2 separate regions of the Homo sapiens genome follow, and region 1 is linked to region 2. Evidence: promoter capture Hi-C in 16 types of primary human blood cells and fetal thymus (Javierre and others, 2016). All regions are on one chromosome and are shown on one strand. Each heading gives the region's core, a stretch centred on a gene start or on the middle of the fragment in contact. The rest is flanking DNA. Distances are from core to core; before and after follow the strand shown. Region 1 holds the start of WFDC13 (WAP four-disulfide core domain 13). Region 2 holds the start of SEMG1 (semenogelin 1).

What was found. Contacts are between HindIII fragments. The CHiCAGO score rates a contact against its expected background, and 5 or more counts as called.
Region 1: the fragment with the promoter of WFDC13 here is called in contact with the fragment with the promoter of SEMG1 in region 2 in 11 of 17 cell types (M1 macrophages, M2 macrophages, M0 macrophages and 8 more); the score reaches 13.6 in M1 macrophages.

What each region holds. Positions count from the first base shown.
Region 1 is chr20:45,697,721-45,704,659 of GRCh38, forward strand. WFDC13 (WAP four-disulfide core domain 13) reads left to right here and starts at 4,318. Exons shown (of 4, transcript NM_172005.2): 1 at 4,318-4,491; 2 at 6,724-6,874. The coding sequence starts at 4,404. It overlaps WFDC10B (WAP four-disulfide core domain 10B), which reads right to left. Exons shown (of 4, transcript NM_172006.2): 2 at 6,777-6,841. The HindIII fragment of the contact is 1,162 bases long and covers 3,446-4,607 here.
Region 2 is chr20:45,201,488-45,208,889 of GRCh38, forward strand. It overlaps SEMG1 (semenogelin 1), which reads left to right and starts at 5,546. Exons shown (of 3, transcript NM_003007.5): 1 at 5,546-5,642; 2 at 5,887-7,243. The coding sequence starts at 5,567. The coding sequence ends at 7,199. The HindIII fragment of the contact is 3,637 bases long and covers 2,137-5,773 here.

The DNA.
Region 1 (6,939 bases), core at 3,068-5,567, 500 kb after region 2:
TTCCAACAGGTATTTCTTTTTCTTTTTTTTTTTTTTTTTTTGAGATGGAGTCTCGTTCCGTCACCCAGGCTGGAGTGCAGTGGCGCGAGCTCAGCTCACTGCAACCTCCGCCTCCCAGGTTCAAGCAATTCTCCTGCTTCAGCCTCCCGAGTAGCTGGGACTACCAGAGTGTGCCACCACTCCTGGCTAATTTTTATATTTTTAGTAGAGATGGGGTTTCACTATGTTGGCCAGGCTGGTCTCGAACTCCTGGCCTCAGGTGATCCACCCGCCTCGGCCTCCCAAAGTGCTGGGATTATAGGTGTGAGCCACCACACCTGGCCGGATTTTTCTTTATTTGAGAAACAGAAAACTTGATCCTCGAGTTCATACAAAACTGCCTTTTCATTGTTGTACTTTGTAGGGTCTCCCATTTCCCCCATTTTGTGCGTTCTGAGTGAAAAACAGAGAGTGCCTTGTTGGCTGTGTGACCCAGCCAGTTGCATGTTTTTCCCAGCAAGGCTGAACCGAAGCCAAGGCTTTGGATAGCCAAAGCAGTCTTCAAAAAGTAGAATTCACACTTCCTGATTCAAAAATAAGCCAATGATTTAAATATAAAAGCTACAGAATTCTTAGAAGAAATGTAGAAGTAAATCTTCATGACTATGGATTGGGCAATGGATTCTTAGAAAAGACACCAAAAGCACAGTAACAAAAGAAAAAAAAATCGGACTTCATCAAAGTTAAAAATTTTTGTGCCTCAAATGACTATCAAAAAAGTGAAAAGACAGCCTATGGAATGGGAGAAAATATTTGAAAAAATCATCTATCTGGTGAGTATCCAGAATATATTAAAGAACTCTTATGACTCAAGAAGAAAAAAAAAAAAAAACCCAATTACAAAATGGGCAAAGGACTTGAATATACATTTCTTCAAAGAAAATATAAAAATGACCAACAAGCACATGAAAATATGCTCAATATCGGCTGGGCACGGTGGCTCATGCCTGTAATCCCAGCACTTCGGGAGGCCAAAGCAGGTGGATCACCTGAGGTCAGGAGTCCAAGACCAGCCTCGCCAACATGGTGAAACCCTGTCTCTACTAAAAATACAAAAATTTGTCAGGTGTGGGTGGCAGGCGCCTGTAATCCCAGCTACTCAGGAGGCTGAGGCAGGAGAATCGCTTGAACCCAGGAGGTGGAGGTTGCAGTGAGCTGAGATCACACCACTGCACTCCAGCCTGGGCGACAGAGTGAGAATCCATCTAAAAAAAAAAAAAAGAAGAAGGAGGAGAAGGAGGGGGAGGGGGAAGAAGAAGAAGAAAGAAATGCTCAACATCATTAGTTATTAGGGAAATACAAATAAAAACCATGAGATACCACTTCACATTTTTTGACTGGCTATAATTTCTAAAAAGGAAAATAATAAGTGCTGACAAGCATGTGGAGAAATTGGAACCCTCGTGCATAGCTGATAGAAGTATTAAATTGTTCAGCCGCTGTGGGAAGAGTTTGGAGTTTCCTCAAAAAAGTAAACATACAAAGTTAAACATATGACCCAGCAGTTCTACTCCCAAATATTTACCCAAATGAGTTAAAAATATATACTCAAAAAAATATTCATCTACAAATGTTCATAGCTGCATTATTTGCAATTGCCAAAGCAAGGAAACAGCTGAAATGTCCATCAACAGATGAATGGATAAACAATTGTGATATATATATATACAATGGAGTATTATTCACCCATAAAATGGAATGAAGTACTGGTGCATGCTACATAGTAAATGAACCTCAAAAACTACAGAAATAACATTTCCTACCCAATTGTTTTGGAAAAAATTCAAAAGCATGACAACACGTTCTGTTAGTGAGACTGTAGGAAACGTGCACAGTCACATTGTTGGTGGCATTACAAAAAGGTATAATCTTTATGAAGTAGAAATCGGCAATATCTAGCCAAACTATATGTGCATTTATCCTCTTTTTTCTCTTTTGAGACAAAGTCTAGCTCTGTCACCCAGGCTGGAGTGCAGTGGCTTGATCTTGGCTCACTGCAACCTCTGCCTCCCGGGTTCAAGCGATTCTTCTGCCTCAGCCTCCTGAGTAGCTGGGACTACAGGCATGTGCCACCACGCCCATCTAATTTTTGTATTTTTAGTAGAGATGGGGTTTCACCATGTTGACCAGGCTGGTCTCGAACTCCTGACATCATGATCTGCCCTCCTCAGCCTCCCAAAGTGCTGGGATTACAGGCGTGAGCCACCGCACCCAGCCGTGCATTTATCCTTTTAACCAATGATCACACTTTTAGAAATTTACTGATATTATACCTCCAACAATACAGAAAATTATGCATAATTGTTCATTGCAGCATTATTTATAATAGCAAAATCTTGGAAACTACCTAAATGCCCAAATATAGGAGACTGGCTATATGACTAAGGTGTATGTCAAATGCAGCTGTAATAGAGGAAAAATTGTTATGAACTACTGGAGAGCAGTTTTCAGGATATATTGTTAAATGAAAACAACAAGGTGCAAATGGGTATATTCGTGCAAGAAAAACAGAGTTGAGAGTTCAAGTAACTAATTATCTTAAATCAAGAATTTATAGAGAATTGATAAAGAAGGGCTGCTACTCAGCACATCCTATGAAGTCAGCATAAACTTGCTATGAAACCAAGCAAGGACAATATGAGAAAGACAAGTTACAGGCCCAGTTCATTATGAACATAGATGTAAAATACCTTAAAAATAGCAAACTAAACCAAACAATATAAAAATGATAATATTCAATGATCACCTTATATTACCATAGAAATGGCTTAATGTTTGAAAATCTGAATGTTCACTGCATTAACAGATTAAAGGATATAAAAATGTTATCATCTCAATATACATAGAAAAAAGCAATACATATAATCTGACATAAACTAATTTAAAATTTCTTGTTAGGAATGAAAGAAAAATTTCTAAACCTGATAGAGGGTACTTATGAGAAACCTAAAGTGGAGACAATTCTAAAAGGGGAAACAAGAAGTTTTCATTTTAAATCAGGTATCAGACAAAAATACACACTATCACCACTTACATATGATGTACTCAAGGGCCTAGCGAGCACAGTGAGGCATTAAAAATGGCATAAAGTTTGAAGAAGAAAACTATAACTGCTTATTTGCCTATGATAAACACTGAAGAGAACACACAAAGAAACCATAATAAACAATGGGAGAATTTAGCAAGCTAACTAGTTACAAATTTGTGGAAAGAAGAAAAGATCCAAGCTTTAAAGAGAGGAAAGCAAGTTTGAAATAGTATTTGTAGAAAGTGGGAACACTGGCTTACTGAAGAAACTTAGTAAGATTGCCAGACCCTTTTTGGTTTGGTGATGGTGCATCTATTGTGCTGTTTAGTAGCCCAGTTGAGTTATTTTCCCCCAGCAACAATTATCTGCCTAGGTTCAAGCTTCAATGAAATTGATGGTTGGATTCATTCAGGGTTGCAGTTTTTGTAGGTAGATTCAAGCAAGGAGATTTAAATGACAGGTTCTGAGTCCTACATTGATAGAAAGAAAAGTAAACGCCTATAGGGGAGGACTACGAAATAGGGAAGTGAAGAGTCAATGTTTATTGGTTTCAGTGAGGTCAAATAATTGTCATGGTGGAGATTTTTGAGCAAACTGGAAAGTTAACTTCTCTACATTAGCAGTAAACAAAAGGAATTAGTTGAAAAGTTATGATAACATTTACAATTTCCTTTTAAAAACTTCAAGCCTCAGACCAGGCGCGGTGGCTCACACCTGTAATCCTAGCACTTTGAGAGGCTGAGGAGGGCAGATCACCTGAGGTCAGGAGTTCAAGACTAGCCTGGATAACACAGTGAAACCCCATCTCTACTAAAAATACAAAAATTAGCTGGACATGGTGGTACACGCCTGTAATCCCAGCAACTCAGGAGTCTGAGACACAAGAATTGCTTGAACCTGGGAGGAAGAGGCTGCAGTGAGCAGAGATCGCACCACTGCACTCCAGCCTGGGTGACAGAGCCAGACTCCATCATCTCAAAAAAAAAAAAAAAAAATTCAATCCTCTGTGAATAAATATAACATGTACAATTTCCACAGGGGAAAATTATAAAAAAATGTTAAGGGACATGAATAAGATCTAGATACAGATGAAAGAGATAGCAAGGTCAAGATTAGGGGAATAAAGGAGGATATGAAAACACTACGTGACCCTGGAGTGGGTGTGATTGGGAGGTGCTTGGATTCCTGCCCTGCCGGTTTTGATTGGAGTACACGGTGAAAGGCTAGTCACACTGGGCCTCCACTTTGCCCTCTTTCCTTCTCTTCTCCTCACAGCAGTGCCTGGTCAAACCCAGCAACCCTTGGCCAGAACTTACTCACCCATCCCACTGACACCATGAAGCCTGTGCTGCCTCTCCAGTTCCTGGTGGTGTTCTGCCTAGCACTGCAGCTGGTGCCTGGGAGTCCCAAGCAGCGTGTTCTGAGTAGGTGCTGGATCTGGGCCCAAGGAGGGAAGTAACATGTGTGGATAGGAGAGGATCTGAGGGCTGACAGTCTGTCACACCTCTTGGAAAAATACCGTGTCATGTTCAAGGGCCCAAGCTTTATTGTTGGCAAGATCTAGGTTTGAATCCCTGCTCTGTTGCTGAGTGACCTTGGGCATAGTATCTGGGCCTCAGGTTTTTATCCTTATAATGAATACAGGAGGAGAACAGATAATGCATGCAGACATAGCTCACTCTTACTAAACCATGGTAAATGCTCAGTAATATTAAATGCTGTAAATGTGATCAGCCTCATCATCCAGCTTAGTCTTGCTGCCCGTGGCTCCTTCATGGATGCTTGGACTCACTTTTCAAGCAATAAAACAGAGAGACAACGAAGTTGGTAGAACTCAAGCTAGAATCTACATAACCTTGGCCTTGGAGGATGTTTTGGGAAGGAGGGAAAGGAAGTCTTGCCTTTTATTCCACATTTTCAAACTCCAGAGGTACTGTACAATTACCGGTAATTAGCATCAATGGGACAGTGTAGAGTCCATCTCAGCAGCCACCACTGCCCAGCTCAACTCAAAAGAGCTCTGGCTCTAGTAATGTTGACCTTAACCAATACCAAGTGGGAAAAGAACTGTTATTCATCATACATCCACTCTTCTATGGGGAAAACATCTTCAGAATACTGGCGGCTCAGAAGAGGGATAAGTGTGGTAGCTCATGTGTCTGGGGAGGCTAGGTCCTGCTTAAGAAGTTTCAGAAAAGGCATGCAGGTTTGTAGGACTAAGAGGGACTAAGCAAGCTACAAGAAAATAGGAGTGCCCAGGGTAGAGTTAATTGGAGAATCAGAATTTGAGGAAAGGCACAAAGAGGCTTTCTAAAAGACTGGTAAATGCTGTGAGTGAAGTTGGGACCAGATACCCAGAAGAGGGGTCAAGACTTGAAAAGGGTGACCTCTCTGAGATCTCTGGATCATGGTGTCTATCTCTAAACTGCTCTGTTGAGCCCCAAGCTCTTCAAAGTGTGGATTAGTTCCAATTTCTTGCAGTGCCCCAGTGAGCTATAGAATAGCTGAGAGGCCAGGGGTGAGTACTAGTTATTGGTCTCTGTTAAATTGTCAACAGCTTGAACCTCAGCTTCTTTTACCCCAATTCTGGTGCCATTTGCTACTACAGTTATAGTCATGACCTCTTTCTTCATTCATTCCTTTCAAATCATCATAATATCCTATAGATTTCCTTCTAATTGCAAATATTTGCAGAGGAATAGACCCACAATTCCTCTATTTGCAATAGAATGCCCCACTTTTGACTTTTGCCCCCAAAGAAAGGGAGAATCACAAGGTACAAAAATTAGGACCTGGAAGGGCTTGGGGAAAGGGATTAATGGGGCCCATCTTTAGAGTCCAGGAATAGAAAGGAGATTGTGGGTTGTGGACTTAGGGAAGACTCTCCCAGGGCAGGTAGGTCTTAGCTTTGAACTGAAATACTTGGGGGTAGGGGAGGAAATAGGAAGTCAACATAATGATGCTTATTCTTCTCTAACAGTAGAAAGTGGGGCATCCTGGTGCTCTGGCCTCCTGATCGAGAGACACCAAGGAAGAAAAAAGCTGAATCTTTGAACGCCATTCTGAAATCCCCACCCTTCTTACCATGAAAGAAGTCACTCCCAGAACTTACTTGTGAATTGGGTCCCAGCTCTCTGATCCAGTACCTTCAGTTTAATGCATGGTCTTCATCCTTTACCAAAACTTACCTTTCACTCATTCTTCCTGTACACAAATAACCCATGTTAGGTTAACCCCAGGGTAAACTATGTTGTTAATGAGAAGCTCTACAACTTGCTCAAGACCACACAATGAATCAGTGCAGAACGAACATACAAACCTCTTTCTTGTTCACCACATACACCATTGATACCCTTGATATGGACACAACCATAGTCAATGGGGGCTTGGCATCTGAACTACAAGGATGGTGAATGACCAATGGGTGCAGGGTTCTACCAAACTCTGTTCTTGATCAAAAAATATCCATGCCCTGCTTCCCTGCTCAGAACTCAGAGGAAGGCAGCAGCTGAGGACAAAACCTGATGCCACCACCCTGGAACCATGCAAGGCAGATGAGGGTGGCAGGTTTCCTGGCAGTTCCCTGGGCTTTCTGAGTTCTGAACATTACTCCAGCCTGTTGGTGAGGCCCTTCTCTTACTTGTTCTGTGTTCCAGAGTATATCTTGGAACCTCCACCCTGCATATCAGCACCTGAAAACTGTACTCACCTGTGTACAATGCAGGAAGATTGCGAGAAAGGATTTCAGTGCTGTTCCTCCTTCTGTGGGATAGTCTGTTCATCAGAAACATTTCAAAAGCGCAACAGGTAAGAGATATCTCATATCCAGGTCTGATCCTAGAGCTGCTGGTGGGAGCCCAGCAGAAGAGTCC
Region 2 (7,402 bases), core at 4,296-6,795:
CAATCCCTTCCATCACGATTAAATACTTTATGTGGCATCACCAGAAACTGAGCAGATGCTGGCACCAGGCATCTTAGCCTGCAGAACTTTGAGCCAAACAAACCTCTTTTCTGTATACATTCTCTAGTCTCAGGTATTGTTTTATAGTAATGCTAAATGCCCTAAAACACCTACTATTATTGTATGCAGAGATCTCTCTTCAGAATATTTGCTTTATATCTTTAGGTGCTTGGATTTGGGGTGCATACGTACTTACGATTTCTGTATTATCTTGCTGAATTGACCTCTTTAGCATTATATAATGATCTTCTTTATGTCTTTTTACATTTTTGACTTAAAGTCTATTTGATCTGATATAAGTGTTGCTACTCCTGCTCTCTTTTGGTTTCCACTTGTGTGGAATGTTTTTTCCATCCATTATCGTTCAGTCTATGTGTGTAATTACCAGTATGGTTGCCTCTTTTAGGAAGCCTATTGATGTATCTTATTTTTTTCCCATTCATCCACTCTAGGCATTTAATTAGTGAATTTATTTACCTTCAAGATAATTATTCATAGGTAAGGACTTACTACTGCCACTTTTTCATTGTTTTCTAGTTGCTTTGGTGATTCTTTCTTTCTTTCTTTCTTTCTCTCTTATTGCCTTCCACTATGATTAAGTTAGTTTCTCTAGTAGTATATTTTGATACTTATTTTTTATTTTTAGGGCGTCTATTAAAAATGTTGTCTTTGTGGCTAACATGAGGCCTTTAAAAAAAATCCTGTAGCTATCACAAGTGATTTTAACCTGATAATAATTTGTTTGATTACAAAACATAAAACTACACCTTACCACCACTTCCCTCCCCGCATTTTGATATTTTCATGTCACAATTAACAGCTTTTATGTGCCATATACATTAACAATTTATTGTAGTTATTATTAATTTCAAGTTTTATCTTTTAGCCTTCATACTAAAGATAGAAGTGATTTATACATCACCATTATAGTATCACAGTATTCTGAATTTTGACTGTGTAATTAATTTTATTAGTGAGTTCTACACTTTTAGATTATTTTGTATTACTCATTAGCATCCTTTTCTTTCACCTTGAAGAACTCCTTTAGCATTTCTTGTAAAATAGGTCTGATGGTGACATACTTCCTCACCTTTGTATGTCTAGGAAAGTTTTCATTTCTCTGTCATTTCTGAAGAACAGCTTTGCTGAGTATAGTATGCTTGGATGGTTTTCTTTTTTTTCATTACTTTGATAATATTATTCCACTCTCCTCTGATCTTTAATGTTCCCTTTGAGAAATATGATTTGATTGCAGCACTATTCATACTAGCAAAAACATGGAATCGACTTAGGTGCCCATCAATGGTGGATTGGATAAAGAAAATATGGTGTATATACACCATGGAATACTACACAGTCATAAAAAATAAATAAAATCATGCATTTGCAGCAACATGGATGCAGTGGGAGGCCATTATCCTAAGTAGATTAATGCAGGAAGAGAAAACTATATACCACATGTTCTCAGTTATAGAGGGGAGCTAAATGTCAGATACTCATGAACATAAAGATGGAAATAATACACACTGAAGACTACTAGAGGAGAGAAGGAGGGAGGGAAGGGGACAAGGGTTGAAAAACTAAATGTTGGGTATTATAGTCAGTATCAGAATGACAGGAAAATTCATACCCCGAGCTTCAGCATCATGCAATATACCCAGGTAACAAATTTGCACACTTGGCCCCTGAATGTAAAATAACAGTTGAAAAAGAAAAAAAAGGTCTGATGTGAAGTGTATTGGAACTGTTTTGCATTTTATTTGCTTCTTTTCTTTTGCTGCTTCAGTATCATTTATTTGTCTTTGATCTTTCACAGTTTAATTATTATATGTCTAGTCTTTTTTGAATTGAATGTGATTGGTGACTGTTGACCATCCTGCACTTTGACTACATATATATATATATAATAGACACATACATATATATATAATATATATGTATATATGTATATGTATATATATGGGTGTATATATGTGTGTGTGTGTGTGTGTGTATATATATATATATATATATATATATATATATATATATGAACTCCTCAGATTTGGAAAGTTTTCTGTTATTACTTATTTAATAAGCTTTCTTTACTTTTCCATTTATCTTTCTCTAACTTCTCTTGAATGCCAGTAAATTGTCCCTTTGCTCACTTAATGCTATTCCATACATCTCATAAGTTTCCTTCATTCTATTCTTTTTTCTTTTTTCCTTTTCTGAGTATATATTGTCAAATAACCTGTATTCAAGCTCACAGATTATTCCTTCTGCTTGATCATTTCTGGTGTTAATGCACTCTATTGCACTTTTCACACTTTTCATTTTATTCATTGCATTCTTCAGCTCCTATATTAACATTAGATATTAAATGTTATCATTTTTACCCTTTGTTACATCTCTCTTTCTGGTCACTTATTGTTTTCATCATTTCATTTAATTATTTATCTGTATTTTATTAAAGTTCTTTGAGCTTCCTTAGAACAGCCATTTTAAATTCTCTTTCAGGCAGGTCATACATCTCCATGTCTTTGGGGCCAATCAATGGTATCTTATTTTGTTCATTTGGTACCTTATTTTGTTAATTTGGTGTCATCAGTTTTCCCCGATTGTTCTTGATCCTTGTGATTGTGCATTGATGTCTGCACATTGAAGAAGTAGGTACTTATTGAATTGCAGGTAGGTACTTGAATGCAGATATTGAATTTAAGGTAGGTACTTACTCCAGTTTGGCTTTGTCTGAGAATGTCCCTCAACTCTGTCCGGAAATTCTAGGCAGATCATCTGTTCTAGGTTTGTAAGCCTGTGACTGTTTCAGTCATTGCAGCACAAGGAGATGTCATAAACCCAGGACCACCATGGCCAGTTCTGCACCAGGCTGTAACCCATGGCTGCAGAGGCTGGCACAATGATGGAATGCATTCCCAACTCCTCCTCACTGATACCTGCCTACGTATGTTGGTTATTCATAATCCAAGGCTGCTGTAGTTGGCTGCCAGTGGTACAGGTAAGAACGCAAGTCTATCTCACAGGAACTATGTGTTCCTCTCTGCTGCTGGGGCAGGTCTTGCTGCTTAGGCCACAGGTATTCAAGCAGGGTCACTATGGGTGTCCTCCCAGTGCTGAATTTTACTATTATAGACTAGTATTTTGTTCCGTGAAAAAGTCCAAGCCTTACTTCATTCCCTTCCCCCCAAAAGAAAGTAGCTCTCTCTGCACTGTGCTGCCTGTGATTGGGTTAGGGGTGATACAGGAAACAAAATTGTCTTTCGTGCCCTCTTCAATGTGTATTTTTAATTATTATACTATAATCAGGTTCTGTAATATCTCATCTGGCCTGTTTAGCTTTTGAGAAACTATTATCATATGTGGATAATTATTAAATTCGACGTTTTGGAGGGTATAATCTCTGGGGAGTCCTACTCTACCAGGTTTTTCTGCCCATTCCCCAAAAATAACTATATTTGAATCTTTTCTAAGTTGTAAAGTGATTTCCCATAGAATTGAGCAAAATACATTTAAGTCCTCCTGTTTTCTTCTTTTCCTATGAGTATAAAACTTTCAGATTTTTGTGCCAATTTAGTGCACTTTAATATTTTTGCATTTTTTATTTGTCCAACAGGACAAATCATTTGATCACTTAATCTTTTCCCCCATCATAATTCCATATCTAAGATGTATGCATCACCATACCATTTTTATGCTTTCCAAATCACTGATTTCTGATTTCAACTTTATCAATACATTCCTTTATCATTTGGAAATGTTTTTTTCCACATTTCATTGAATTCAATTCTAATATGAATATAGTAATCACATGTTTTGCTTGGATTGCATTTTCCTGGTTTGTTTTTGCAAATATTGTGCCCTTTTGTTTTATCTGCATCTTTTGGACACTAGATGAGATGAAAGTTTTGTTCTTGATCCATAAGTAAGATTAATATTTCAGACTCTATTTTGTATCAGTAAGTTTGGAACAGAACAGTTTCTGGTATTTTCTTAAGGGAAGTGTGAGGAAGATTACAGTGGTTAGCAGACACAGTAATCAATTTTAGTTCAGAACAATATCACCTTACTCTGTTGGGGTTTCTGCAATAAGGAACTACTTACTGCCTTTGAGGCAAACAGATAAATTTGGTAAGATCTCAGAGTGGCTCATAGAGAAACCATGCAGCTCACATGATTTATGTTTGATAGCATAGCACTTTTTTTCTGTGGTTGGCCTTTCTCTTTTCCCCTTCCATAGAGCATTGCCTACAGGAAGGTTAAGATTCTAAGACAGAATAATTGAAAATAAGTTTTCAAGCTATCCTTTCCCCAGCACTACCCTCCAAGGTGTTCTGAATGTACACAGGGACACTGTTGGGATGCTTTCTTCTTCTCCTGTGGTCTGCTCATAACGAAGTCTTTATGACTCAAAGTAAAGAAAGTTTCTTCAGACTTTTCAGGATGTCATCACAATTGGAAAAATCTATGCTTCTACCAAAGGTGGGAATTTTAGCTTCATGTCCACTCACAATACATTATTCAATTCATTGATGGTGGCAAATATTTCTCACAGCCTGTTTGGGGATTCAGCTGTTTACTACTGAAGTAGAAACTTCTCTTAATTAAAAAGAAAATTCTGCTGTTTAGGTAGATTTCATGAAAAGAACCCAATCTAGAAACCAGCATTTTTACTTTTTTTCCAACAGTTGTTCCTATCACCATGAAAGCATATTAAAATTCTTTCATCCTTTGAAAACACATCTGGAACTTACCTCACCCTCCAGATACAGCCTCAGCTCTCACTCCACCATGAATTCAGACTTCCTGAGAAGGTTGCAGCTGGTCTCCATCCTTCAACTGACAACCCAATGCAATTGTATTCATCTCTCATTAAAGTTACTAGCAACAACTAAGAAAAACTTTGGATACATGTCAGTCTTTATTGTGTTGAACTTGACAGACATATTTGACATTGGAGTGCCCCATTTACTTGTTTAAAATTTCTTTCTTTGGATTCCATAACGTTTCATTATCTTCTATATCATTGGACTTCTATGATTGCTCATTCTTAGGTAAAATAGAACGTGTCTCAAGATCATTTTTAAAACAAAAGGAAGTATGGAGTTCTATCTAAAATAGAGTATTTAAATTATTGCATCATGAAGGGAAACTCACATTTAGAATATAAAGGCATTCTCAGAAACCAATTGCTTTTGTAGCCTGAAGCCAGTCTCTTTCCTACTTTTGTCTATAATTCTGTAAAATTAAAGTGATCTGGCATGATGATCTAAAAGGACTGATAAAAATTTGCTGGGGCTGCCAGAAGAAAGAAAATGCCTTTGACATTATGTTGCTGGGGACATTGACTTTGTCCCACACTCAGCAGGGGTGAGGAAGTTGGCATTTACTGATAAGCTAAGAAAAGTCAGTGCCTTTTGTAATTTAAGCTCCACCCATGGCACACTCACTCAAGGAAGATATAAATGACAAGGTCGGCTCAGCTCTCAGACAAGGTTTTCCAAGCAAGATGAAGCCCAACATCATCTTTGTACTTTCCCTGCTCCTCATCTTGGAGAAGCAAGCAGCTGTGATGGGACAAAAAGGTGAGTGGAGAGGGTAAGCCTTGGGGAAAGCTGCTCAGACAGCTAATAATCTAAGATTATTTGGGGTGCAAACAGTAACCTGTTTAGGCACAGATTCTTCTCTTTGAAGAGAATTGATTTTCTCCACCCAAAGCTTCAGCTTTTCTAGAAATATCAATAATTTGTTGGGGGAAAAGTGGGGGGTAAGAGTTGTAAGGGAGCTTTGGAGATAATGAATGCATACCTTCTTATTATCAATTACCAGGTGGATCAAAAGGCCGATTACCAAGTGAATTTTCCCAATTTCCACACGGACAAAAGGGCCAGCACTATTCTGGACAAAAAGGCAAGCAACAAACTGAATCCAAAGGCAGTTTTTCTATTCAATACACATATCATGTAGATGCCAATGATCATGACCAGTCCCGAAAAAGTCAGCAATATGATTTGAATGCCCTACATAAGACGACAAAATCACAACGACATCTAGGTGGAAGTCAACAACTGCTCCATAATAAACAAGAAGGCAGAGACCATGATAAATCAAAAGGTCATTTTCACAGGGTAGTTATACACCATAAAGGAGGCAAAGCTCATCGTGGGACACAAAATCCTTCTCAAGATCAGGGGAATAGCCCATCTGGAAAGGGAATATCCAGTCAATATTCAAACACAGAAGAAAGGCTGTGGGTTCATGGACTAAGTAAAGAACAAACTTCCGTCTCTGGTGCACAAAAAGGTAGAAAACAAGGCGGATCCCAAAGCAGTTATGTTCTCCAAACTGAAGAGCTAGTAGCTAACAAACAACAACGTGAGACTAAAAATTCTCATCAAAATAAAGGGCATTACCAAAATGTGGTTGAAGTGAGAGAGGAACATTCAAGTAAAGTACAAACCTCACTCTGTCCTGCGCACCAAGACAAACTCCAACATGGATCCAAAGACATTTTTTCTACCCAAGATGAGCTCCTAGTATATAACAAGAATCAACACCAGACAAAAAATCTCAATCAAGATCAACAGCATGGCCGAAAGGCAAATAAAATATCATACCAATCTTCAAGTACAGAAGAAAGACGACTCCACTATGGAGAAAATGGTGTGCAGAAAGATGTATCCCAAAGCAGTATTTATAGCCAAACTGAAGAGAAAGCACAGGGCAAGTCTCAAAAACAGATAACAATTCCCAGTCAAGAGCAAGAGCATAGCCAAAAGGCAAATAAAATATCATACCAATCTTCAAGTACGGAAGAAAGACGACTCCACTATGGAGAAAATGGTGTGCAGAAAGATGTATCCCAACGCAGTATTTATAGCCAAACTGAAAAGCTAGTAGCAGGCAAGTCTCAAATCCAGGCACCAAATCCTAAGCAAGAGCCATGGCATGGTGAAAATGCAAAAGGAGAGTCTGGCCAATCTACAAATAGAGAACAAGACCTACTCAGTCATGAACAAAAAGGCAGACACCAACATGGATCTCATGGGGGATTGGATATTGTAATTATAGAGCAGGAAGATGACAGTGATCGTCATTTGGCACAACATCTTAACAACGACCGAAACCCATTATTTACATAAACCTACCATTCGGTAACCATGTGAAAGGATGGACCAATATCAAGGTAATTTTTTTTTAGCAAATAGGGGAGATATCTCTCTCATTGTTTAGAATTGTTGGGGACTCTCCAGGACTTTTGTGGGATTGATAACCATTGTTCGCACCAATAGAAGTGCTGTATAACAAGTGGTAGGAAGATGAGCCTCCCCATTCCCTGGTGAGG